Linked DNA regions of Homo sapiens: all the other regions are linked to region 1. The links are contacts of gene promoters, found by promoter capture Hi-C in blood cells and fetal thymus (Javierre and others, 2016). All regions are on one chromosome and are shown on one strand. Each heading gives the region's core, a stretch centred on a gene start or on the middle of the fragment in contact. The rest is flanking DNA. Distances are from core to core; before and after follow the strand shown.

Region 1 (3,695 bases), core at 1,098-3,597:
CCTACCACATATTTGTCTTTGAGCACTTAAAAGATTCATCAACTGTATTTTCTTCCCTCATGTATTCTGGTATCTAAGAACCTTCATTTATCAGTCTATTTTTTGTGCTTATGTTTCAATGCTTTCTTATTCAGCTTTAAAACTTAATTTTTAGCTAAACAGTGCAATGATCTGCCTGAAAACCGAAATACTTGTGCCACTTTTAAAAAGTTCTGTTCTCCTCCCCACTCCCCAAGAAATCCATAAATGCAAAAGTACACATCGGCTAGCCTGAGAGCTTAATCTACACTCTGAATGTAGGAAACTGACTGCTGCTGCACGTCCTCCCCCCTTCATTTCATTCTGACTCCGTCTCTTGCACCTCCTTCATCAGGCACTCCCACCAATCCTACCTTCCACCCCCTTAGTTTTTCTTTGTGTGTATACAAAACGGTGGTTTTTGTCCAAGGTCGCTGTCTACCTTCACCCTATGTTAGGTATACAAGGCCACCTAAATTGTATTTGAAAACAAATGGTTCACCAGATCAGATGTCCCCTTTTCAGAGGCGATCATCTTCTTGGTATTAAACTGAGATTTCAGACTAGTTAGGGTTAGGCCTCTTGTACACACACACAAGGGCCTTTAAACGACATCAACACTGTATCTTCATTATTCGCATCAGATTTATTCAACAACCTCTTTCCAAATGATCCCAGCCCCTCCGTTCCCATAAACACTTGTAGGTGATTGTCTTTCCTGATTGGTAGTTTGCTTGGGTTGTTGTCTGCCACGGTTGGGGGTGGGGAGGTGTCCCACAAAGATGCCTCCAAGATACACTTGAAAAACAAATCCTCCAAGGTTCATTATTTCCACCAGCTCTAATCCACCCCTCCCCCAACACATACAGAAACACACTCCCGCATCTGTCTTTATTGACAGACAATTAAGCTCTGAAGGTGCGTGGGGAGAAGTCATTCTTTGGGTTTCTCCTAACCCTTCCTAACCCCTCAACGCCTGTCTCGTCTCACAATTTGTCAGACTGATTGATTTTCCCCTATTTCCTTTCAGGTCCGCTCCTCCTCCCCGGTCGCCCTGAGCCGCGTCCTCCTGTGTACTGGGTCCTGCGTGCCCAGCACTCATTCTCTTTGACCGAGCTCTTTCAAGCCCCCCTCCCCCCTCCGCCCCTTCCCCTACCCCCCTGGAGCCTCCGTCCCTCGGTCTGTCCATCACCAGCTGGCGGTAAGGGATACTTACTTGAGCCCTAAGCCATTCAAGTGCTGTCCTATTAGCCTAATGACATCCTCATCTGACTGGGAGAGCCGCTTCTTCTTCTTGAGGCTGCTGCCCAGTTCTGGGGTGGCCAAGGAAGAGGAGGCGGCGGTGGTGGCGGAGGCAGCTGCGACGGTGGCTGAGGATGCGGCGGCCGCCCCGCCGGGAACCCCGTTATTGACATTCAGGCTGTTGCTATTGTTGCTGGCGGCGGAGGGGGCGGAAGGCAGGAGCCCATTGGCGTGGGCCAGGTCCCCCGCGGACGACGACGACGAGGGGGACGACTCCCCGTTCTGGGCCGACAAGCAGGCGAGTTCCGGGGTCTGTCCCTGGCCCCCGCCGCCCCCTCCTCCTCCACCGCCGCCGCCGCCACCTCCTCCTCCTCCTCCTGCCCCATTGGCCTGCATGATGCTGCCGCTGACCAGGCTGTGGCCGCTACTTCGGTGGGGGACAGCAGCGGCGGCGGGAGGGGCAGCAGCCGGGGGAAGTCCCACCACTACCACCACGGAGGAGGAGGAGGAGGAGGAGGACGAGGACGACGAGGACGGAGGGGAGAGGCCTGCTCTGCCTGCCGAAGCCCCGGGCTCTCCTACTCCCTCCGCCGCCGAGGCTCGGGGTTTCTTCCGCGGGGGCGGGGAGGCTCCGCCGGTGTCCGAGTCGGAGGAGGAGGAAGCGGAGGCCAGAGTTTCCTCGCCGAGAGAGGCCGTGGTGGGAAGCCGGTGGGGCGAGGCGGGGGAGGGGAGGCGGGGGCCGGGGAGAGGGTCGGGGTGAGGGGGGCCGGGGAGGCGGGGAGGGGGTCAGGGTAGGAGGGTGAGGGTGAGGGTGAGAGGAGGGGGAGGAGGAGGAGGGGGAGAAGGAGGATCCGGGCCCTTTCCCCCCCCCCTCCCGGAGGCAGCTCGGGGTGCGCGGCCCGGGGGTCGCGCCGGGGGGCGCCGCGGGGCGGCTGCGGGGGCGCGGGGCCCGCCGCTGGGCTGAGCCCCGGCAGTGGCTGCGGCGGCGGCGGCGGCGGGCGGCAGCGGAGGCAGCTGCCGCCTCTGTCCTCGGATCCGCTCCGCTCTGCTCCCTGGTGTGTTGATTCTTCCCCCAGCTGCTGCCTAATGGAGTCCAGGCGCTCGCGTCACAGGAAATGCCTATACTGCCCTCCTCACTCACTTCCGGTGGCAGGTATGGAACCTATAGGGGGCCTGTCACCCAGCACGTGCATCGGGGGCTGTCCCGGGGGTCAGGGGAGGGAGGCCAGCGGGCCGGCGGGGTCCGCCCCGACCCCATCCACGACCCCGACTCCTATCCGATCCTATCCCCGGCCCCGCTCGGGCCTTTCCCCTTGCGCCCTGGCTCGGCTGGCTCGACGAGCAGTAAGTTCGTAGCCGCCCTCCGAAGCCGGGCGTGCATGGGATGGCAGAGTTGGCGTGCGTGCGTGAGTCCACCAGTGTGGCATGGGCATGTAAGGTGCGCGGAGGGACTGCACCTTCTCCATCAGGTGCAGAAGGTGAGGATGGGGCAGGGGGCTAGGAGCTTCGACAGGCAGGAACTTCCAGGCACAGGGCTGTGGTAGGCCCCTCTCAATGGTAACCAGGACCGAAATCGGGTTTCACAACCTACTTGTTTTAGGGTGGAAAAACTTGAATTTCCACAGCCAAGTGCCACACAGTTGCTGTACCCGGGGCCATCCCGGGAGCTGTGAGATAATGAGCCGGTGAGACTCTGCTCCACCCTGGGAAGGGGAGTTAGTCTAGAGGAGCATATCTTATGGGGACAAGAAGTCACAAAAAGGCTGTGTGGTGTGTAGAGAAGGGGAGGGACTCTGCTGTTGAGGCTTCACTCTTTTTTAGCACTTGCCCAGCACCTCCTTCTCTCTTCCAGCTGCCTCTTGAGTCACTGCCCAGTTTAGGGAGCAGTAACATAAACCAAACAGTTGCCTCCAAAATATGCATTCTGAGAAGGATTCAGGCACCCATTCAGATCCAGGCTTGAAATTTTTACGTGGCATGTGAGCCTTCTGTGTCATCATGACTTACCAATTTATGTGAATGTAGAAATGCAGCAACAAAGACTGGGCTGAATCTTAATCATTGGCAAATGGTGTGCATTATCCCCAAACAATTATTTTCATGTATGTGGTTGATAGCATCTATACTCAATATGTATAAAGATTTTCTCAGAAATTTAAAGTCTTTCTCTGAAGTAGTTTTCCTGTGGGGAGGGGAAAAAAAACACCTTAGTTTCTAATTAATACATCATACATCGCTGATATTTATTATAGTAATAACTGAAAGTAATTTTGAGGCCTTTGGAGACAGTTGTTTTTAAATTTGGAAATACAATAAAAAATGATGCTGATGAGAAATTAGTAAAGAATCCTGAGGTTTATGGATCCTCAGACAGGAAGAAGTAAGAGGAAGGTCAATGCAGGATCTTACAGGGATTTGGTTTTGTAGTTCTTACT
Region 2 (3,465 bases), core at 832-3,331, 1.7 Mb before region 1:
TTTAATCCCAATTTGCTTTAGAATTACTATTTTATAAAAACAGAAAGGAAGGAGTGGAGGTTGCTGAAAGACCAGAGCAGACTGTACATTACAACGAAAAGAGTATGAACATTGGGTTTGTACATATTTAGATGCAAGTCCAGGTTTTCTACTGCATGAACATCTGCTTCTTCAACTATATCTTGGGGCTACAGATAGAGTACTTTGTGAGAAGCAAAATAAGAAAATTTTTGTGAAGTGACTGACAACAGTACTAGGCTTATAAGACATTCATTAAATGTTCATTTCCTTTCTTCCTTCCTTGGCAATATTTTATGTCGAATTCATAATATTCTGGGATACTCAGATTTTCTAAGACCTTGTTTTCTGTTTTTTAATGTGACCCATTTGTTTTTAATCCAAAATTAAGCAATTTTTTTAATTAAAAAGACTTTTTTAAAGAATCAAACCTCTGTCATTATTTTGACAGATTCTATAATGTGTGCATTTCATAAATTTGGCATTTTTCCGACCATGCAACATTTTGATTCTGTGTAATAGTGAGCTAAAGCCGGGCACAGTGGCTCACGCCTGTAATCCCAACACTTTGGGAGACCGAGGCAGGCAGATCACTTGAGTTCAGGAGTTTGAGACCAGCCTGGCCAACGTGGTAAAACACTGTCTCTACTAAAAAATACAAAAATTAGCTACGTGTGGTGGAAGGTACCTATAATCCCAGCTACTTGGGAGGCTGAGACAGGAGAATCGCTTGAACCCAGGAAGCCAAGGTTGCAGTGAGCTGAGATGAAGCCACTGCACTCCAGCCTGGGCGACACACCGAGAGTCCATCTCAAAAAAATAAAAAAATTTAAAAGTGAGCTACTATTTAACCTTTTTTCAGCAGTTTTATGAGATAGTGAAGAATTATGTGATGAAGACTTTAATACTAAATATTCAGCACAAGTGAGACTTCTAAGTTACTTTATTCTTGATTGCTGCTTACTCAGTGGAAATCGTGTTGTGAGTTTATCTGTTCTGAAAAATATTTTTTCCATTATAGTTACTATGACTACTACTTTTATGTGGTGTCATAGAAATGGAGTGTTTGGAAACAAGGCATGTTAAATGAAGGATTATAAAGGAAAAGAGTTACTCATGAGACTTCACTAAATTAGCCAAACTGTTATATTATTTAAAAGTTATAAATTAGACATGTCCACTAGATCTCCAGATGTAATTCATTTGATAGTTTCAGTGCAGAAAATAATAAGCTATTAAACTATGTATTAAATTTTTTTCAGGAGGATAAAACTGTTTTGAGAAGTTTGTTCATAACTGTCATTTTTGGATGTTATAATCTATACTAAAGACAGTTTAGAAATTATTTTTTAATTACTACATATTTTATAACACTTTTTTTTTTTTTTTTCATTTAAAAAGTTGCCATATCTCCATTTATCTTAAGACAGGGGCAACAAGTAACTAAAAAATAAAAAGTAGAATGATAATTCTGGTTTCTTCTTTTTGGGTAGCTTTTCTGTTTCTTAGTATTACGTGTGTAAAATAAGGATATTCTGCTTTCTTCATCAGTTGAGATAAATGAGATCATGTGTAAAAAATTTTCAGGTTCTTCTAAGAACAATAGTGAATATATATTGTTATGAATATCTTATTTGCTTGATATGCTTTTGCCATCTTTATTTCATACTTCATAATAGAATCTGAAGGAAACAAGGTATAAAATATACTTGTGTTCAGGACCTTTTTCTGGAATACTGATTGGCTAGGCATTCAGAATCTTATACAGTTTGCCTTCAGCTTGCTTTTTGCCCTTCTTTTCCTTGATTTCTTTTTTACATACCTTCTGCTCCAGTCAAGCTCATTGGGTCACTTCTACCAGAAAATTTTTTATACTCCTCTTGGGCTTTGATGGCATTGTTTCCTCACCTGGGATGTCCTTTTGCTTCCCTTCTAGTCATCTTTCCAGGGACAGTTCAGATTTTATATATACCATTAAACCTTCTTAATTATTCTAGCCTGAAACAATCTCTCCTCTGAATTTGATTTTTCTAAAATGTTGTATAAGAGCCACACCTTTGAGAATCGACTGAGTACTTGTTAAAAATACGATTCTAAGCCCCATCCCAGGCTTTCCGACTCTGGGATTAAGGCCCAGAAATCTGTATTTTAAAAGCTGCTCTATGTGCAGTAAACTTTGGGAGCTCCTATTCCCATGCTTATTATTAAGTACATAGTACCTTCTGGACCATTATACTTAGCCATTTGTAGTTAATTACCTGTACATCTTATCTCCCCATCTATATTAAACACAACCATTTTCCTCATACATACCAGTTAGCATATACTTCTTTGTAATTTTGAGTCGGATATCCAGTAGGCTTCATGGTGTGATGTCTGGATAATTGACAGAACTTAATGATCATGTTTATAATTCCAGTGCCCAGCAGGATGCTGTTTTTGAATTAATTTCCATGGGATTTAATGTAGCTTTATGGTATACCAAATATGCTTCAAGACTGGCTGGAAAAGAAAAGTAAGTTAATAGGAGAGGATTGTGTACATCTGTGTTATTTTTCAAGTATGTGGCGCTTCATTATTTTAAAAATCTATTTTAAAAAGTACCACTTTGGATGTTTGAAGGATTGCCTTGTAATGTTAGTATTTTGAGTGTCAGAATTATGGCACCTAGCGTTAAGAGGTAAAATAAATTTTAATAGTCTTGTCATATGGAAGGTCTTGCTAAGTAAGACCCCAAATCAAGAACCCATAAAGTAAAAGCATGACTATTTAACTACATCAAAGGACCGTAAACAAAGTTAAAAAACAAATGACAAGATTGGTCAAAAACATTGCAATTCATATGATAAATTGTTTGTTTTTATAACGTATACTCTTATAAATCAGCAAAGGAAAGACCGTCAAATCAATTGAAAAGCAAAGGACATGAACAGGCAATTCACAGAAAACAAGTACAGAAGGCTAGCAGTATGTGAAAAGATGTTTTGCAGGATTAAATAATTATAAAAGGTGATACAATTTTTATAATAGCTATAGTGGATACAGCAATAGGAAACTGTCAATTTATGGTTCATCCATACGTGGGAATAATATGCAACCACTTGAAAATGATGTCAAATTGTATGTGCTGATGTAAAATTATCTCTAAAGTAAATTAGGTGATTAAAATAAGAGCAGAGTAATGATTATAGCTACCATTGTGTATCTATGTGTTTCTTAAGCATGTATATGCATTAAGTGTGTAATATTTTGTCTTGTTTATATACAAATGTCTGTAAGGAAAAATAAGGCTTTGTCTGGATTTTATTTTGTTTTGTTTTTTGTAAAGTTGAGTTCTCACTATGTTTCCTGGGCTGGTCTTGAACTCCTGGCTTCAGGTGATTCTCCTGCCTTGGCTTCCCAAAGTACTGGGATTACAGGCATGATCCACCATGCCTGGCTGCAGAT
Region 3 (3,651 bases), core at 927-3,426, 1.7 Mb after region 1:
GCCCAATGACTTAACCTTTCCTGAGGCAAAGGCACAGAAGAGCCTATTTTCCAAAAATGGGAAAACGAAGACATAGGAAGGAAAAACCCAACAAATGGTCAGGAAATTATACTGCTATAGGCTCTTCTCGGATGAGTGTCTAGTCCTAATGAGGGGGCTGTGGGAATTCAAAGACGGAGAAACTGCCTTCAGATAGAGCTAGTAGGGAAGACCCCTGCAGACAGTGACATTAAATTGAAGGTAGAATTTGGATAGATGGACATGGGGAGGGCAATTCAAACAAAGGGAACTTGAGCAACAGGGTGGAGGTAGAAAGGTGCCAGATCTTTTGGGAGATGCAGAAGTGATATCACACAGTTTAAAGCCAGAGTTAAATATAAACCGATACTTAGAAGCTTAAATTCAACATGGCAAATTCACAGGTTTAGTTTCCTAAAAGATTTTTCATGTTTTTATTACAGAACTGTCTGCAAACAAATCTTTACTTGATGAGAAGTTTAAATATAATTAAATCTAGAATATTACATGAATATTTTATTGCTTTATTAAGTCCTTCAAACAACACATTTATTTATTTATTTATTTATTTATTTATTTATTATTTTTTTTGAGACAGAGTCTCACTCTGTTGCCTAGGCTGGAGTACAGTGGCACGATCTCAGCTCACTGCATCCTCCACCTCCCAGGTTCAAGCGATTCTCCTGCCTCAGCCTCCTAAGTGGCTGGGATTACAGGAGTCCACCACCACACCCAGCTAATTTTCAAACAACACAGTTTTTAGAGGTATAATTAACCTCTTTAGAATATTACCTCACAACAGAATAAACAAATCAAAAACTTCAGATATTCTTTCTAAAGACCCCCTTAGTCAGTAATATCTATAATCACATGACAATGAGTGACACCATGTGATAGTGGCCCGAAGGCTCAATGATGCTGGCCATGCAACTCACTTACTTACCCTCCTCTGGCAACAGATTTTCTTTTCTTTTCTTGTTTTTTCTTTCTTTCTTTTTTTTTTTTTTTTGAGATGGAGTCTCGCTCTGTCATCCACGCTGGAGTGCAGTGGCACGATCTCAGCTCACTGCAACCTCTGCCTCCTGGGTTAAAGCGATTTTCCTGCTTCAGCTTCCTGGGTAGCTAGAACTACAGGTGCCCGCCACCACGCCAGACTAATGTTCGTATTTTTAGTAGAGACAGGGTTTTACCGTGTTGGCCAGGCTGGTCTCAAACTCCTGAGCTCAGGTGATCTGCCCACCTCAGCCTCCCAAAGTGCTGGGATTAAAGGCATGAGCCACCATGCCCGGCCTGGCAACAGATCTTCTACCCACAAGGAAGGGCATGTCCTCCAGGGCTGGATCCTTGAGGGACTCGTTCCCCAGGCCACAGTGACGGGCCAGAGATGGGCATGTGATCCCAGCAGGACCATTCAGAATTCTCCCTTAGAATTGATGCACAGAGGTAGGAAGAGAGGTTTTTCGGATTACTTCACTCCTTGGACTATTAAGCGGGGGTTGCCTCATGGAGGAACAGAGCCTGCTGGCAAAGATGAGCAGCAACAAAAGACGGACAGAGACTTAACTGTGTGGAGTCCCCTTTCAGGGTCCCTGCAGCTCTTCCTCCAACCCAAAGACCTAGTCCGAGGATCCTCTCCCATTACCAAGCCAGTAAATTTCCCTTTGAGTGGGATTTCTGTCACTTACAACCAACAGGCCTAACACAAGAGTGAACTGTAAGGGAGACCTCTAAGGCCAGCCACTTAATGCCATATCTCATCAAGATGCCCTTGATTGTAAAACATACCATCATTTTATGTACCATGAGGAAAGGGGAAAATGCTGTAAGTAAGCTATGACAAGCCACTGATTATGAGATGCATCCCAGTTTCAGAAGCATGAAAATATGGGAAAAATGTGCTTCCTAGGCCTGATGAAATATTGCAGCTGTGTGCCCTTGGGTGAGTTACTTAATCTCTATGTTCCTTGGTGTCCTCGTCTTTAAAGTGAGGATGACAATGCCCACCTGACAGGATTGTTGTGAGGATTTAGCCTATCTACACACAAATGTTCTTAGTAACATTATTCATAATAGCCAAAAATTGGAAACAAGGCTGGGCACAGTGGCTCATGTCTGTAATCCCAGCACTTTGGAAGGCCAAAGTGGGCAGATCCCTTGAGCCCAGGAGTTCAAGACCAGCCTGAGCAACATGGGAAAACCACCATCTCTACAAAAAATATAAAAAAGTCAGCCAGGCATGGTGGCACATGCCTGTAGTCCCAGCTACTTAGGAGGCTAAGGCAGGAGGATCACGTGAGTCCCGGAGGTTGAGGCTGCGTTGAGCCATGATCACATCACTGCACTCCAGCCTGGGCAATAGAATGAGATCCTGTCTCAAAAAAAAAAAGGAAACAACCTAACTGTCCATCAACTGGCGAATGGATAGAGAGAATGTGGTACATCCACACAATGAAATACTACTGAGCAATGATAAAGAACAAACTACTGATACATGCTATGCCATGGATAAGTCTTGCAAATGCTACGTGGAGAGAGAAGCCAGACCCAAAACAATGCATACTGTATGCTTCCATGTATTTATTTATTTATTTTATTTAGTGGGTTTTTTTTTCTTTTTTTGTGACAGAGTCTTGCTCTGTCACCCAGGCTGGAGTGCAGTGGTACAATCTCAGCTCAGTGCAACCTCTGCCTCCCGGGTTCAAGTGATTCTCCTACCTCAGACTCCTGAGTAGCTGGGATTACAAGCACGCGCCACCATGCCTGGCTAATTTTTTTGTATTTTTAGTAGAGATGGGGTTTCAACATGTTGCCCAGGCTGGTCTGGAACTCCTGACCTCAAGTGACCCACCCACCTCGGGCTCCCAAAGTGCTAGGAATACAGGTGTGAGCCACCGTGCCTGGCCTGTTATGATTCCATTTTATGAAATGTCCAGAAAAGACAAATTTAGAGACAGAAAATAGATTATGGAGCTGGGCACTGCAGCTCACACCTCTAATCTCAGGACTTTGGGAGGGTGAGGTGGGAGGATTGCTTGAGGCCAGGAGTTCAAGACCAGCCTGGGCAACATAGTGAGACCCCATCTCTGCAAAAAAGAAACTAGATTAAAGGTTGCCTGGAGAAGGGGGAGAATGGGGATTAACAGTAAATGGGACTGCAGTCTTTTATTGGAGTCATGGAAATGTTCTAAAATGGATTTATGGTGAGGGTTACACAACTTGGTAAATTTACTAACAATTCACTGAATTGTACACTTGAAATGAGTAAGTTATACAATATGTAAGATATACATCAATAGTGGTATTAAAAATAGATGTACAATGCCTAGATGAGCTGCTTAATATGGTGTGTGCTTAAGAAATCGTGACTCACTTCAGAGCTGCTCTGGCTTAGATTCCTAAATCCATAAAACTTCCCTTTCCTGGTCTCCTGAACGGGTGAGTTTTCTTTCCTTTTACATCCTGCACCAGGACCTCTGTGGAGGGTATCAAGAAGAAGCCCTGCTTCTAGAAATTATTAGTCAGTTAAGCTGTCAGGATCTTACAAGGAGACAGCAGAAGAGAGCGCCTCTGTCTACAGGGAGCAGAGGTAGGGGATTTCAGAAGGCTGGGAAACCTCGCCCTTCAGTTCATCCT
Region 4 (3,712 bases), core at 348-2,847, 1.6 Mb after region 1:
ACCAGAGAAATCGATACTAGTACTAGAGGGCAACAAATGCTGTTACAAATTGGGGTACGTAGAGGAAGGTACTTGGTAGAGGACAGGGGCATGTTTCCGGGGCATAGATCAAAGTATATAAATAAGGAACTGCCAGGCCAGTTGCGGTGGCTCACTCCTGTAATCCCAGCACTTTGGGAGGCCGAGGCAGGAGGATCACGAGGTCAGGAGATCGAGACCATCCTAGCTAACACAATGAAGCCCCATCTCTACTGAAAATTAGTCAGGCGTGGTGGTGGGCGCCTGTAGCCCGAGCTACTCGGGAGGCTGAGGCAGGAGAATGACATGAACCTGGGAGGTGGAGCTTGCAGTGAGCTGAGATCTTGCCACTGCACTCCAGCCTGGGCAACAAAGAGAGACTCCGTCTCAAAATAAATAAATAAGGAACTGCCGGGCGCGGTGGCTCACGCCTATAATCCCAGCACTTTGGGAGGCCAAGGTGGGTGGATCACGAGGTCAGGAGTTCGAGACCAGCCTGACCAACATGGTGAAACCCCTTCTCTACTAAAAATACAAAAAAGTAGCCAGGCATGGTGGCGCATACCTGTAGTCCCAGCTACTCGGGAGGCTGAGGCAGGAGAATCGCTTGAATCCGGGAGGTGGAGGTTGCAGTGAGCCGAGATCGCGCTACTGCACTCCAGCCTGGGCGACAGAGTAAGACTCCATCTCAGAAAGAAAGAAAGAAATACGGAACTAACTTGTGATATGTTCTGGAATCAAAAGTACTCTTATGATAAAACAGGTATGAAAGGGAACATAGATGAGAAGCATGTGATAAAAACCACTTGTTCACCATGTTATACTACTGGACAAGGCAGAGGTTCACATACTGTGTGAATGGGATTCAGAGTGAGGAGGAGACTAGGCTGGGATGGGGTATTTGGATTGGACATGATTGCGTTTATAAGAATGAGAGTGTTAAATTGGATTTCTTGCTTTATTTGTGACATTTCAGTTTATTAGAAATCATGTTACCATTAGAAAAATTGAAGTTTCCTAGTAACAAAGTAATTTGATTTGTGTAACTTGATAAAAGATTTACTGACTTAAGCTTTTGTTTTTTTTCATAAGCTGCTTTTGAGCTTTGTCCCACAGGTTGTAAAATGTAAGCATTTGGTAAAATTGTCAGCATCTTGCCCAGTCATTTTTTTAAAGGGTTCAAAAACCTTTTTGTTTTAATTCGTATAGTTGGGTCTTAACTATTGGAAATAACATCATCAGTAATTTTTTCTTCATTCCTTTTGCAGGAGGCAAGTGAGGCCTATCTGGTTGGCCTTTTTGAAGACACCAACCTGTGTGCTATCCATGCCAAACGTGTAACAATTATGCCAAAAGACATCCAGCTAGCACGCCGCATACGTGGAGAACGTGCTTAAGAATCCACTATGATGGGAAACATTTCATTCTCAAAAAAAAAAAAAAAAATTTCTCTTCTTCCTGTTATTGGTAGTTCTGAACGTTAGATATTTTTTTTCCATGGGGTCAAAAGGTACCTAAGTATATGATTGCGAGTGGAAAAATAGGGGACAGAAATCAGGTATTGGCAGTTTTTCCATTTTCATTTGTGTGTGAATTTTTAATATAAATGCGGAGACGTAAAGCATTAATGCAAGTTAAAATGTTTCAGTGAACAAGTTTCAGCGGTTCAACTTTATAATAATTATAAATAAACCTGTTAAATTTTTCTGGACAATGCCAGCATTTGGATTTTTTTAAAACAAGTAAATTTCTTATTGATGGCAACTAAATGGTGTTTGTAGCATTTTTATCATACAGTAGATTCCATCCATTCACTATACTTTTCTAACTGAGTTGTCCTACATGCAAGTACATGTTTTTAATGTTGTCTGTCTTCTGTGCTGTTCCTGTAAGTTTGCTATTAAAATACATTAAACTATACCTGCTTTTGGTCTTTATTATAGCCTTGCCCTACAATTATATTCCAAATAATTTCAGTATTAAGTCCTTTAATAGTCACTTTATATCTGAGACGTGAGACTTATTGAGAGAGAAGGAAAGTATAGACTTGGTGGCAAAAGGAACTTGGCTTTATTTCTAATTTTTAGAAGCTTGCCACTACCCAGTGGTCTTAACTCTTTGGATGTGTTGTCTTCTGAACCAATAATTCGAAAAGCTAATCAACAGGATCACCTGGAAATAGTGGAATCTGTAAGTAGATTGAACTTTCATGAATGTTTAATAACAAATGAGAGTGTGTAACAGTCTTTAGCTCAAAAATTAATGCATTCAAGATCTGGCTATTTTAAGATGCTCTATTAGTTAACCCTGAATTTATTCAAGCACTAATAGTTAATTCTTAGCCCTGTTTTATTTAGTGTTGGTACAATTAATGTGAAATGAGGATAATTAAACCTTCTAAGACTTTTAACACATCCCATTAGTTGTAACGTTTGAGTGTTTGAAACTGCCCTAGAAGTGATACGAAATGTTAATAACTATGCCAAGAATAGACGCATGTCAGTAAGATACGACACTGGGCTTGCATTCTTACTGCTCTTAAACATTTAGCCATAACTTAATCTTTTGACTATAGGTGACTATAAAATTCTTTAATGGGAGAATTAATTACTTTAAGAGGCTGATTTTGTTAGCATGCATCCTAGTTTTCAGTATGATCTTTTGCATGTACTTCTACAGGGAAGTACGGGTAACACTTGGAACTTTCTCAATATAAGTTACTAAAAGCCAATTGTAGTTGAATGTTCTCTGTTCAATCCAGTTTTTCAGTGCAAAAGACCAAATGGCCTTTTCATGAAACACTTCAGAAGAAAAAGGTGTCTCCAGTAAGGGAGGAAGTTAATGTTACCTGCTGGAATCTGATAAAGACCAGTTATTTACAAGTAGACAATACAGTCCTTTGAGTTCTTGGAATCCTAAAATCTCGAAAAGTTTTAATGCTCTAAAAGTACATTTTTTATTGCCCCATGAAGTGGTTGTTAACAATTCTTTTTTTAAACATAATTTCAATGTTTAAACAAATATTTAGTACTATGTGCTCACTGTCCAGGTATAATACAGTAAGTTGTACATTATAAAATGAGCCAGATAGAAAAAAGCACAAAGATAAACTTGGCACTCAACGTATGTACACAAATGTCTGGTCAATTTATTGAATTGTCTCATACAATGCTATGTTAATATTGGGCATGTATTCTTATATATTCCTAGTTTACCAGGACCTGACAAATATGCATAGTAGTTTTGAGCTCAGGGCTATCCTTTGACTCAGGTGTAAGTGGATCTGCCAGCTCTTTAATCCCTGGGTTAATGCTCGGTAACTGTTAGGCTCATAATCCTCTTTCCTATGATGCTTCAGAGTTGCTATATGGCAGTCCCACCCAGAAAAAAAACCTAGAGTGAATTGGAATTCGGCCCAAAATGTATGGAGACTAGCTAGAATTACCACTTTGTTTCAGCTTTTCAATAGCAAAGTAAATAGCCAACAAACACCTTCTAAGATTCCAGAAAAGTTCACTAAAGTCTAAGTTAACGGATGAAAAACCCCAGAAAATTATATTTTAAGATTAAAAAAAAATTTCAGGTAAACGTCTTAGGAAAATCGGGAATACTATGGAAGAATCTTTAGGAATTTGAAAACATCCTCTTAAGCAAATGGGGGGAATCTCAGCTATTATGAATAGGTGGGTGCTTG
Region 5 (3,359 bases), core at 438-2,937, 1.5 Mb after region 1:
AAATATAAACCCAGTCTAATCCTGTACACTTGTGATTAATTGTGACAATCTTAAGTTGCTCACTTCTTTCCCATTTACCAATTCAGAGAAAGCCCGTTTCCTGTTTTCTCCTCACCACTTTGCCTTGGCATCACACCAACCCTGCCTCGGGCTTCAGCTGCAGATCCTCCCCAGCCCCTCCTCCCAGCTGGGCTGACTCCAGTCCCAGCCCCAGTCTCCACCAACTGAGCAGCGTACGCAGGGTTGTGTCTGGCTTCCAGCATCTACCACCCCTTCAGAGCAACTTCCAACATGGGACAGGAGAGGAAGCTCGCATTGCTTGGTCTGAACAGATTTAAGGAGGTTTTATCACAAGGACCTGAAAACTTCCTAAGCATGCTTTCTCCTTGCACAGCTGAGGAGGGGCAATGGTGGGAGCGGGGCAGGGGGGTGGCAGGGGCGGCAGGGGCTCTCAACTAAGGGCTCTGAATCACAGAGGGGACAGATGCTGCCTTAGTCCTTCTTGCCTCCCAGGGCCAGGCTTCTTGTGAGGAGCTTCCCTGGGCTGGAGGGGGTCAGTGTGGAGACTGTGGGGGATTCCAGCTTCACTCTGTCTAAGAGGGTCTTCTTAAGGGCAGCTGGGGAGATCTTTTCTTGGTCGGCCATGGACTGTAGCTCTCTGCAGACAAAACCCCAGAAGGATTAAAGGAAGGCAATAAACCCTGGGGCCAGAGCTTTGAGTCTCCACTATCCACACAACCCTCAAGCTTGTTGATGTGACACCACCAAAAATTAGAGCCCCAAGACAAACGCTTCCCAACTAGTACTTCCCAACTAGTACTTCTAAGAAGTATTAGTTACCTAAGTTAGGGTTTGCTTATTTATCTCATTTGATCAGAGCCCCAAGTGGTATCTGTGATCACACGGGAAGAGTGACAGGCTTTGGAGTCATAGATTCAAATTAGAATCCTGTCTCCATCACTTTTTAACTGTTTGACCTTGGGAAAATTATCTCTGAGCCTCAACTTCCCATCTACAAGTCAAAGTTAATCCTGGTTATCTGAAATGCAGTGAGAATTAAGTGAAGTAAGGCTTGCAAACTCTTAGGTAAACAAAATCTACTAAGTTGTGGTTATTAACAGAGCACAGACTCCAACACTGCTAAATGGGACCCAAGACAGCAGGTTCCGCAAATGGTGCTCAACCCAGCCCAGGGACCAACCAGGACTGAAGGGTCTGGGACAGAAGTCCGCGGGATGGACTCACCGTGTTCGGATACAGGAGGCCTCAACTGCATTGATGAGCAGAGAGCGGAAGCCCCCACTCTCTAGAAAGTGCAGGGCGTGGATGGTGGCTCCCCCAGGGGAGCAGACATTGTCCTTAAGCTGGCATGGATGCTGCTCCGAGTCCAGCAGCATCTTGGCAGCTCCCTATGGGGAAGGGCACATTAGGAGAAAGTTGCTGGTGTGCGTTGGAACAGGCTTCCCATACCCACTGCTCCTGCCCAACTGCTACCCCAGCTTCCCAACCAACTCCCACCTCAGTTCAGTGATGCACAAGAACCCCCATTCTACACCCTGGTCCTGAACATGCGGGGGAAAGATACTGACCAGCAAAGCCTGGGCCCCGAGTTGGATTGCCAGGCGCCGTGGCAAACCCATCTTCACCCCACCATCAGCCAATGCGTCCAGAGCCATGAATGCCTGTGGAGACACTCACTAAGCCCCAGGCCATAGGCACTGAAGGGCCTTTCCTTAGGTCTGCTTTCTGATGACTAGAACTAGCTCCAAGGGTCAGCATCCTGTACCAGCCAGCTGTGCCCAAGAGGTGGGCGCCACCCCCAGTCCAAGCCTGCCTGCCAGCCCATCTTGCTGCCTGGGTTCCTAGAAGGCTGAGCGAGCAAATGAGGGCCTCACATAGGCAGGCCCGCTGCCACTGAGCCCCGTGACGGCATCGATGAGGTCCTCTTCCACCTCAGTGCAGAAGCCCACGCTGCTCATGAGCTGCTCCAGGAGCTGCCCATCCTCCACCAGGGCATGGGTGCCCGTGGCGTACACTGTAGCGCCTTCCTGCACTACCACAGGTGTGTTGGTCATGCAGCGAATCACTTTGGGGGCTGGCTGGAATGCCATCAGCTTCTAGGGTGAGGGAGAGAGCCGAATGAGTGGCCAGGGCACGGCTCCCACCAGCACCCACCCATTAGCTGCCATTCGTGGGTCAACCCTCCCCTCACACAAGGGGCATCAGGGCTGAGATGGGCACCTTCTCCACAGAGCTGATGGTGACACCAGCCGCACAGGAGACCACGATGTGTCTGGCTTGCACGTCGGCCCCAATCTCATCCAGGATGAAGGGGATGATATGTGGCTTCACAGCCAGAAACAGGACGTCGCTGTGCTTCACCGTCTCCTTGTTGCTGCGTGTCAGGTTCACACCCATCTTCTGCAAGAGGAGACTCCCAGCTCACAGTGCTGGAGCAGCCTGGCTATGCCAAGGCCTCCCAGGGAGCAGCTGAACCCCTGCCAAACCGATTCTGCCAGATGCAGCCTGGAATTCTTAGCTTTATGCCCTCAGGGTTCTACCCCTACCCCAAATAATACAGTTTCCCATTGTTGCTACTGGACAAGTAAGCACAGGCTTGGAGCATGACAAGCTTCTCCATGGTAACCAGGAAGTGGCTGCCCTTCTTCCCTGCCAATCTTCTGGTATCTAAGGCACTCCTCTGCCAGGTAAGAAGGCCCTATGGTGAAAGTGGCAGGGCAAAGGGAAATGCTAATACCTGGTCGTTAAAAGCACAGCTGAGTCAGGCCCTATCCTAACCCTGGCCGCTTGTTCGTGGGGACCGCACAGTCTCCATGTGGTCCAGGGCTAGGCTGGAAGCCATCCATCCCTCTATGACTCCAAACTGAGAAGCAGGACCCTCCAGTGCTAGGGACATCAGCCCACCCTAGGCACAGACACTGCCTGTCACCTGCCTCATCAGCCATCCTCTCCCACAGAGCACAGGTTTTGGGTGAAGACTTGGAATATGTTTTTGGAGAACAGAACAACTAACTCACCAGATTCTTCCCAATATGCTCATTCACGACTCAGAATAACAGCAAAGTGGCCACTGTTGTAAATGAGGAAATAGCCTCAAAGTGGCTGAGTACTTTAAGGTCATACAACTCGTCTATTAAGAAAAATGGCTGAGCGCAGTGGCTCACCCCTGTAATCCCAGCACTTTGGGAGGCCAAGGCGGGCAGATCACTTGAGGCCAGGAGTTCGAGACCAGCCTGGCCAACAGTATTCTCTACCAAAAATACAAAAATTAGCTGCGCGTGGTGGATGCCTGTAATTCCAGCTACTCGGGAGGCTGAGGTGGGAGGCTGAGGTGGGAG
Region 6 (3,408 bases), core at 703-3,202, 1.6 Mb after region 1:
AGATAAGAAACTGGCCCATAAGGACAGGTAAAGCTCATGCTTGACGTGAAATAGTAAAGGAATGGAATTGGCTGCAGAAAGAATGAAGAAGGATAGCTTAGAAGAGATGGTTTACCTAGAGAAGTAATTCTCACGGCGTGGTCCCTGGACTGGAGCATCAGCATCAACTAGGAACTTGTTGGAAATGCAAATTGCTGGGCCCCTGCAAGACTTATTATCAGAAACTCTGGGGCTGGACTCAGCGATCTGAGTTTTAAACAGCACACTCAAGTTTGAGAACTAGTGAACTAGATAAATAATCCTTTTAGCAGATAAACAGTGTAGCAGAATTCTCTCTATCCAATTTATGTTCTACATATGAAAAAACAAAACTGTTAAACCAATTATTTGAATCATTTTTAAAACTTTTTTTGTTGGCCGGGGGTGGTGATTCACGCCTGTAATCCCACCACTTTGAGAGGCTGAGGTGGTTGGATCACTTGAGCCAAGGAGTTCAAGACCAGCTTAGGTAACACAGCAAAACCACACCTCTACCCAAAATACAAAAATTAGCCAGTCTCATAACCTGGTCTCAAAATAAATAAACACATAGATTAAATTTTAAAATAAAATAAACAAACCCTTTTTATATAAACATTTTAAACCTACACAAAAGTAGACAGAACAATAAACCTTCATATACCCATCATCAGATTTAACAATTATCAAGATGTTGCCACGTTATCACTTTCTCTCTCTGTGATTTTTTGTTTTAATCCTAGAAATTATTTCAATTGCCCAGGCATGATGGCTCATGCCTGCAACCCTAGCACTTTGGGAGGCTAGTCAACATAGCGAGACCCCATGGTTAATAAATAAATAAATAAAATTTTTTAAAATTTCAATTCACCCATATATATTTCAGTATGTGTCTCTTAAAAATGTGCATATGTTCTTGTTTGACCATAATGTCAATTTCACACCTAACAGGATGAACAATACTTCCTATTTTCACCTAATACCCAAACTATAATCAAATATCTCTGATCATTAAAGTGCAGCCTATTTAATTCTATTGTACTTGGCTATTTTCTGTGATACACACTTAATAAAATTAGAGAATACTAAGATGGAAAAAACTTTAGAGATTTTTTTTCTTTGTAAAATGTCTTTTAAAAAGAATATTCCTGGCTGGACATGGTGGCTCATGCCTGTAATCCCGCACTTTGGGAGGCCAAGGCGGGTGGATCACTTGAGGTCAGGAGTTCGAGACCAGCCTGGCCAACATGCTGAAACCCCGTCTCTACTAAAAATACAAAAATTAGCCAGGCATGGTGGCCGGTGCCTGTAATCTCAGTTATCTGGGAGGCTGAGACAGGAGAATCAATAGAGCCCAGGAGGTGGAGGTTGCAGTGAGTGGAGATCGCACCATTGCACTCCAGGCTGGGCGACAGAGTGAGACTCTGTCTAAAAAAAAAAAAAAAAAAAAAAAAAAATCCTTTTAGACATAAACAAGTTTAGAAGTATCTGGATGGGGGAGGGGGTGTCCTTCTTTATTATCTATGGATTGGATATTATCTGTAACATGAGTTTCCATTTTGGATACTGTGACGTCGTCATGCTAGTTGTCAGAAAATGTAATTAATCAGATAAATCGTAGTTGTAAGTACATCTCCCTGCCACATGTCAATAGTTATCTGCCCCATTCTCTGTGTAGTCAGCAAAAAGTGTTAGGGAAATGTGTGGTGTTTCCTGACATTGCCTTGGAAATACCTGTTCTGTTATTATCCCAAAATGGGTATAGAAAATGTGGTAAAATGGGGCTGGGCACGGTGGCTCACGCCTGTAATCCTACCACTTTGGGAGGCCAAGGCAGGCCTTGAGGTCAGGAGTTCGAGACCAGCCTGTCCAACATGACGAAACCCCGTCTCTACTAAACATACAAAAAAATTAGCTGGGTGTGGTGACGGGCGCCTGTAATCCCAGCTACTCGGGACACTGAGGCAGGAGAATTGCTTGAACCCAGAAAGCAGAGATCGTGCCACTGCACTCCGGCCTGGGTGACAGAGCAAGACTCCATCTCAAAAAAAAAAAATAAGTAAAAATATAGTAAAATGTTCTCAGCACCTTAAAAATATTCTTAGCTCTGTTAATTTCCAGAGTCAGAAATAATAATAATGTACACATTTATATAGCACTCTTAAGCCTTTTATCCACATTTACTCATTTAGTTTGTTTAAAAAGCCATTAAGAATGTACTTACATGATGCAAAAACAACAGGATAAAAACAGACAAATGAAATCATAAGCTAGCTGACCAAATGTTTAGGTAGTAGGAAATGGTTTTTTAAACTTAATTCTTTCAGCAAGTAATTTTTTCTGACTTGGATAGATAGATAAATACTGTTATATATGACCTGTCATTTCTACAATGATAAACTTTGATATTTATAAAGTAAATAATTTTGGCCGGGCTCAGTGGCTCACGCCTGTAATCCCAGCACTTTGTGAGGCCGAGACGGGCGGATCACGAGTCAGGAGATCGAGACCATCCTTGCTAACACGGTGAAACCCCGTCTCTACTAAAAATGCAAAAAAATTAGCCAGGCGTGGTGGCGGACGCCCGTAGTCCCAGCTACTCAGGAGACTAAGGCAGGAGAATGGCGTGAACCCGGGAGGCGGAGCTTGCAGTGAGCCGAGATCCCGCCATTGCACTCCAGCCTGGGCGACTGAGCAAGACTCCGTCTCAAAAAAAAAAAAAAAGTAAATAATTTTATTAGTATATGCTCAAGACATGCACATAGTGTATGTGTACTTTATACTCTTGCAATTATACTTTGATTTAGAAGATATAACAAAATACAAATAGTAAATTTAGGGCAAAATTGAACTGTACTACCACTTAAAATGTGGTGCAAAGACTACGGATTTTAATTGATTGATTTTATTTTATTTTTTATTTTTTTGAGAAGGAGTGTCACTCTGTCGCCCAGGCTGGAGTGCAGTGGTGCTATCTCCACTCACTGCAACCTCCGCCTCCCAGGTTCAAGCAATTCTCCTGCCTCAGCCTCCCAAGTAGCTGGGATTACAGGTGCCCGCCACCACACACAGCCAAGTTTTTGTATTTTTAGTAGAGACAGAGTTTCACTATGTTGGCCAGGCTGGTTTCGAACTCCTGACTTCAAGTGATCCGCCTACCTCGGCCTCTCAAAGTGCTGGGATTACAGGTGTGAGCCACTGTGCCTGGCTTTTTTTTTTTTTTTTTTTTAATTTTCTTTCTTAACCTTTCTGGGGGTGGCAGGGAGGAGGTCTGTCTCTCTCTGTCTCTTATTCCTACCATCTCTTCTTTTGCCTGTTTCCTCCCTACTTCTCCCTAGGCCACTTCACAGCTGCATCACTTATTTGTTTGTTTGTTTATTTATTTATTTT
Region 7 (3,793 bases), core at 769-3,268, 1.8 Mb before region 1:
AAAAACAGGGGGCCCAGTGCCATTCCGCAGGGAATTGTCGCTTGCGTTCAGCTGTTCTACACAATGGACTCAGTACCTGCCACTGTGCCTTCTATCGCCGCTACCCCGGGGGACCCGGAACTTGTGGGACCCTTGTCTGTGCTCTACGCAGCCTTCATAGCCAAGCTGCTGGAGGTGACAGTCCCGATTCCCGGGGAGGGACCCAAGCTGTCACAGGCGGGTGGATGAGTTCTAAGCAGAGTGGGTGCACTGATTGTCTGTGCAAAGGAGAAATGGAGTGTGTCAGATCCGAGGAAAGCAAGACGTTTCTATGCTGTTTAGGGAGGCAGGTGGGAGTGTGTTTGAGAAGGTTTCGTCACTCTTTTTTTTTTTTTTATTGAGTACTTACGAAGTGACAGCACTTTATGTTCTGGTGTGAAGTCATGATCAAAACACAGAGAACCTACAGGTCTTTTCTGCATAACCCCCGGCTCTGTTGTGGGATGGGACCAGTGTGATAGTGTACTTGTAAAGGGCTGTGGAAACAGCATAGAGCAGACAGGTGTTTAATGCACTGTTTTCAAGGAAACATTTAGAATTAAGGCACTAAATTCAAAGCGGTTTATCTAGATCAGTTATCAGGAGCTATCCGAACTTAGTCAGCATTTGTTCTTTGTTTATGTAAGTCGATTTAAGATTTTAAATCTTAGAGGAATAAAACGTTATTTGTGATATTCATTATCATCATATTGGTTTTATTTGCAGCCATAAAAAGTTAGTTACTTGTATATAAAAGGTTTTTTGTCTTATGTGGTTTTTTAAGCAATAAAAACCAATTTATTCAAGACAAAAGTATGATGCAGAGAGATTCCAGCCATGTTTTAGATAACATATTGTATCAGGGCCTATTGAAACTAGAAATATATGCCCAACCTAAAGACATTTAGAGTCATAGTACTTCAAAACACCACAGGCCAAACAATAAGTATGAGACTCCCAGTATCCTGTTTTTCTTAAAGCAGTGAGAGCTACTGAAGATTTTTGAGGGGATAGGTATCTGATAGAGTTGGTTTAGAATTTCTGTGAATGAGTCTTTGTGACTGCTTTATGGTAAGCTTCTTTAAGGTTTCTCATTATTTCTAACATTATTTCTAACATTCAGCTAGTTGCTACATTGCCTGATGATGTTCAGCCTGGGCCTGATTTTTATGGACTGCCATGGAAACCTGTATTTATCACTGCCTTCTTGGGAATTGCTTCGTTTGCCATTTTCTTATGGAGAACTGTCCTTGTTGTGAGTAAATTAATGCATACTTTAACTCATAAATTCAAGTATGGTTTTATAATCACAGTCCTTTTGTTTCTTTTTCAGTTTCTAATATGAACAGAAATTAATGCTTTTAATTCAAGCTAACCTTGTAAAATAATTTAGTATAATTTTTGTGTTGGTAAATTCTTAAGTGAATAAGACAACATGTATAATCTCAGTGGGAAAACTTCAGTTTATATGTCTCATATCAAAGTCTAAATTTTAAGAATTAGGTGGGTCTGTATTTCAACTCACAAAGGATGAAAAGAAAGAATTAGATAGGTCATATGTACACTGTTAGTAGAACTAGGAATTCTTAGAGCCATCCTGAAAAATAGTTTCATGATGTGTATGATAAGCCTTAAAAATGGTTATATCCTTTTATATTGTATTAATGTCATGTCTAGTAATCGATCCTAAAGAAATAACCAGTCAGCCGGCACAGTGGCTCACACCTGTAATCCCAGCACTTTGAGAGTCCGAGGCAGGCGGATCACTTGAGGCCAGGAGTTCGAGACCAGCTTAGCCAACATGATGAAACCCCATCTCTTCTAAAAATACGAAAATTAGCCAGGTGTTGTGGCACATGCCTGTAATCCCAGCTACTCGGGATGCTGAGGCAGAGAATCGCTTGAACCTGGGAGGCGGAGGCTGCAGTGAGCTGAGATGTGCCACTGCACTCCAGCCTGGGTGACAGAGTGAGACTCCATCTCAAAAAAAAAAAAAAAGAAAGAAAGAAATAACCAATCATGCATTAAATATCTTACATGGCCGGGCGTGGTGGCTCACACCTGTAATACCAGCACTTTGGGAGGCGGAGGCGGGTGGATCACATAAGGCCAGGAGTTTGAGACCAGCCTGACCAACAAGACAAAACCCCATCTCTACTAAAAATACAAAACTTAGCCGGGGGTGGTGGCAGGAGCCTGTAATCCCAGCTACTTGGGAGGCTGAGGCAGGAGAATCGCTTGAACTGGGGAAGCAGATCATGCCACTGCACTCCAGCCTAGGCGACAAAGTGAGACTCTGTCTCAAAAAAAAGTTTTAAATATCTTACATGAGAGCATTCAGTAGAACAGTATTTATTAGAGTGAAAACTTTGACACAACCTACTGTGATTCACAGTGGGAAAATTGTTAAATTATTGTATGTTCATATAATGGGATATTAGGCTGCTTTATATAATTCAAAGACATAGGAGCACAACAAATACTCACAATTTAACATGAAGTAGAAAAAAAGTAGAAACCAAGACTTTAAGGTATAGATAAACTGTATATTACATAAACATACACACAGAAAATAAATGCTGCAAGGAAATACAATAAAATGATAAAAATTCTTATATCTAGGAGATGAGGTAAGTTTTCAGTTTTTAAAAAATGTGTATTTTCCAGATTTTCTGATTTCATCATGTACTATTTTACTCAGAAAATATCTTTTTATTTCGAAATGCAAATTATATCATGTGTAAAGACACACCGTTAATTTTTTTATCTTCTGTGCAGAATTTGCCTTTCAGACTTAAACATGTTTGTATAAGTGTGTATACTCATACTTGTACATCCTTATGATTATACTATATAGCATTCAGCTGCATAGTTATTTAACATAATTGGGAGAAGATTATTTGTGTAAATGAGCTTTGCAGATGAAAAGCTTTGTATTGAAACTTCACAGTTAAAATGGCCAAAATTATTGGATGCAAATCTTTCTAAAACTGAGTACTCTTTTTCTGATTTCATAATTATATCACATATATCATCATTAATAAATTTTCTCTCACAATTGATTGTAAAATTACTTAAAAAGAAGGGTCTTTTTTCCTGTGAGGCCTTCTCTAACCTCCTGGTGCTTTTCTTCAGATAAAAAGGGAGAATCAAAGGGTAAATGGAAGGGGAAAAGTTGAAAACATTTTACATTTCCCACTCTTGTTTCTCCTATTTGTTAATAAAAAAATTCTAACGCCTTTTTCGTTTTTCAGAAAGTTATATAGGCTCTGTGTCCTAACTGCTGTTCCTCAGCCTCAGCACTTGACTTTTGGAACCTTGGTCTCTGCTTGCCTGTTAGTTTGGGTGAAATGGAGCAGAGGAATTAGCAAGGCCATGACATTAGAGAGATAGTAATTTCTTTCCATGTTGGAATTTTCTGAATGCATATTCCTATAACAATGGTATTATAAGTGAGATTTAGATACTGGAATTATTATGTATACAGTATATTAATTATTGTATACAGTAATACAGTATATTATGTAAACAGTATATTTACTGAGCTTATGGATGATTTGTGGACTGGTGTTAGTATCTCATCAACATAACATTTGAAAGGGAAAATATGTTCTGGGTTGCAAAGAAATTTAGTAATATTCTTTTTACAATATTAGTTACTGCTTAGATTTTCTTGTCCTATAATTTAGTGCTGTCTTTGGGGGATGATTTGGGTGCCCTTTCAGGAAGATGATAGTTGTCATTTCTCTTGTTGCTTATGCATTTTCCTCTAGTA

Evidence for each region. The method cuts DNA at HindIII sites, captures the fragments that hold promoters and counts their contacts. A CHiCAGO score of 5 or more calls a contact.
Region 2: a contact is called between a fragment that was not itself captured here and the fragment with the promoter of WDR26 in region 1, in 1 of 17 cell types (neutrophils). The highest score is 5.6, in neutrophils.
Region 3: a contact is called between a fragment that was not itself captured here and the fragment with the promoter of WDR26 in region 1, in 1 of 17 cell types (neutrophils). The highest score is 6.8, in neutrophils.
Region 4: a contact is called between a fragment that was not itself captured here and the fragment with the promoter of WDR26 in region 1, in 1 of 17 cell types (neutrophils). The highest score is 6.7, in neutrophils.
Region 5: a contact is called between a fragment that was not itself captured here and the fragment with the promoter of WDR26 in region 1, in 1 of 17 cell types (neutrophils). The highest score is 6.4, in neutrophils.
Region 6: a contact is called between a fragment that was not itself captured here and the fragment with the promoter of WDR26 in region 1, in 1 of 17 cell types (neutrophils). The highest score is 7.9, in neutrophils.
Region 7: a contact is called between a fragment that was not itself captured here and the fragment with the promoter of WDR26 in region 1, in 1 of 17 cell types (neutrophils). The highest score is 6.5, in neutrophils.

What each region holds. Positions count from the first base shown.
Region 1 is chr1:224,432,450-224,436,144 of GRCh38, forward strand. WDR26 (WD repeat domain 26) reads right to left here and starts at 2,348. Exons shown (of 14, transcript NM_001379403.1): 1 at 1,235-2,348. The coding sequence starts at 1,956. It also overlaps a transcript of CNIH3 not described here. RefSeq lists a silencer at 2,327-2,726 and an enhancer at 3,067-3,256. The HindIII fragment of the contact is 13,558 bases long and covers 1-3,695 here.
Region 2 is chr1:222,719,982-222,723,446 of GRCh38, forward strand. BROX (BRO1 domain and CAAX motif containing) reads left to right here. Exons shown (of 13, transcript NM_144695.4): 5 at 2,438-2,533. Among named protein-coding and RNA genes, the nearest start is that of BROX, 9.2 kb to the left of the region's middle. The HindIII fragment of the contact is 6,451 bases long and covers 1-3,465 here.
Region 3 is chr1:226,089,764-226,093,414 of GRCh38, forward strand. LINC01703 (long intergenic non-protein coding RNA 1703) reads left to right here. Exons shown (of 4, transcript NR_146920.1): 4 at 462-526. Among named protein-coding and RNA genes, the nearest start is that of LINC01703, 8.0 kb to the left of the region's middle. The HindIII fragment of the contact is 3,567 bases long and covers 394-3,651 here.
Region 4 is chr1:226,070,065-226,073,776 of GRCh38, forward strand. H3-3A (H3.3 histone A) reads left to right here. Exons shown (of 4, transcript NM_002107.7): 4 at 1,287-1,955. The coding sequence ends at 1,415. Among named protein-coding and RNA genes, the nearest start is that of H3-3A, 9.2 kb to the left of the region's middle. The HindIII fragment of the contact is 1,018 bases long and covers 1,089-2,106 here.
Region 5 is chr1:225,919,963-225,923,321 of GRCh38, forward strand. It overlaps PYCR2 (pyrroline-5-carboxylate reductase 2), which reads right to left. Exons shown (of 7, transcript NM_013328.4): 3 at 2,242-2,421; 4 at 1,896-2,117; 5 at 1,590-1,682; 6 at 1,246-1,409; 7 at 1-658. The coding sequence ends at 493. It overlaps MIR6741 (microRNA 6741), which reads right to left and starts at 2,180; the gene lies at 2,118-2,180. The HindIII fragment of the contact is 1,886 bases long and covers 745-2,630 here.
Region 6 is chr1:226,022,269-226,025,676 of GRCh38, forward strand. No RefSeq gene overlaps it. Among named protein-coding and RNA genes, the nearest start is that of SDE2, 25 kb to the left of the region's middle. The HindIII fragment of the contact is 8,184 bases long and covers 1-3,408 here.
Region 7 is chr1:222,644,413-222,648,205 of GRCh38, forward strand. It overlaps MIA3 (MIA SH3 domain ER export factor 3), which reads left to right. Exons shown (of 28, transcript NM_198551.4): 7 at 1,142-1,273. Among named protein-coding and RNA genes, the nearest start is that of MIA3, 28 kb to the left of the region's middle. RefSeq lists enhancers at 1-174, 1-644, 245-324. The HindIII fragment of the contact is 1,853 bases long and covers 1,093-2,945 here.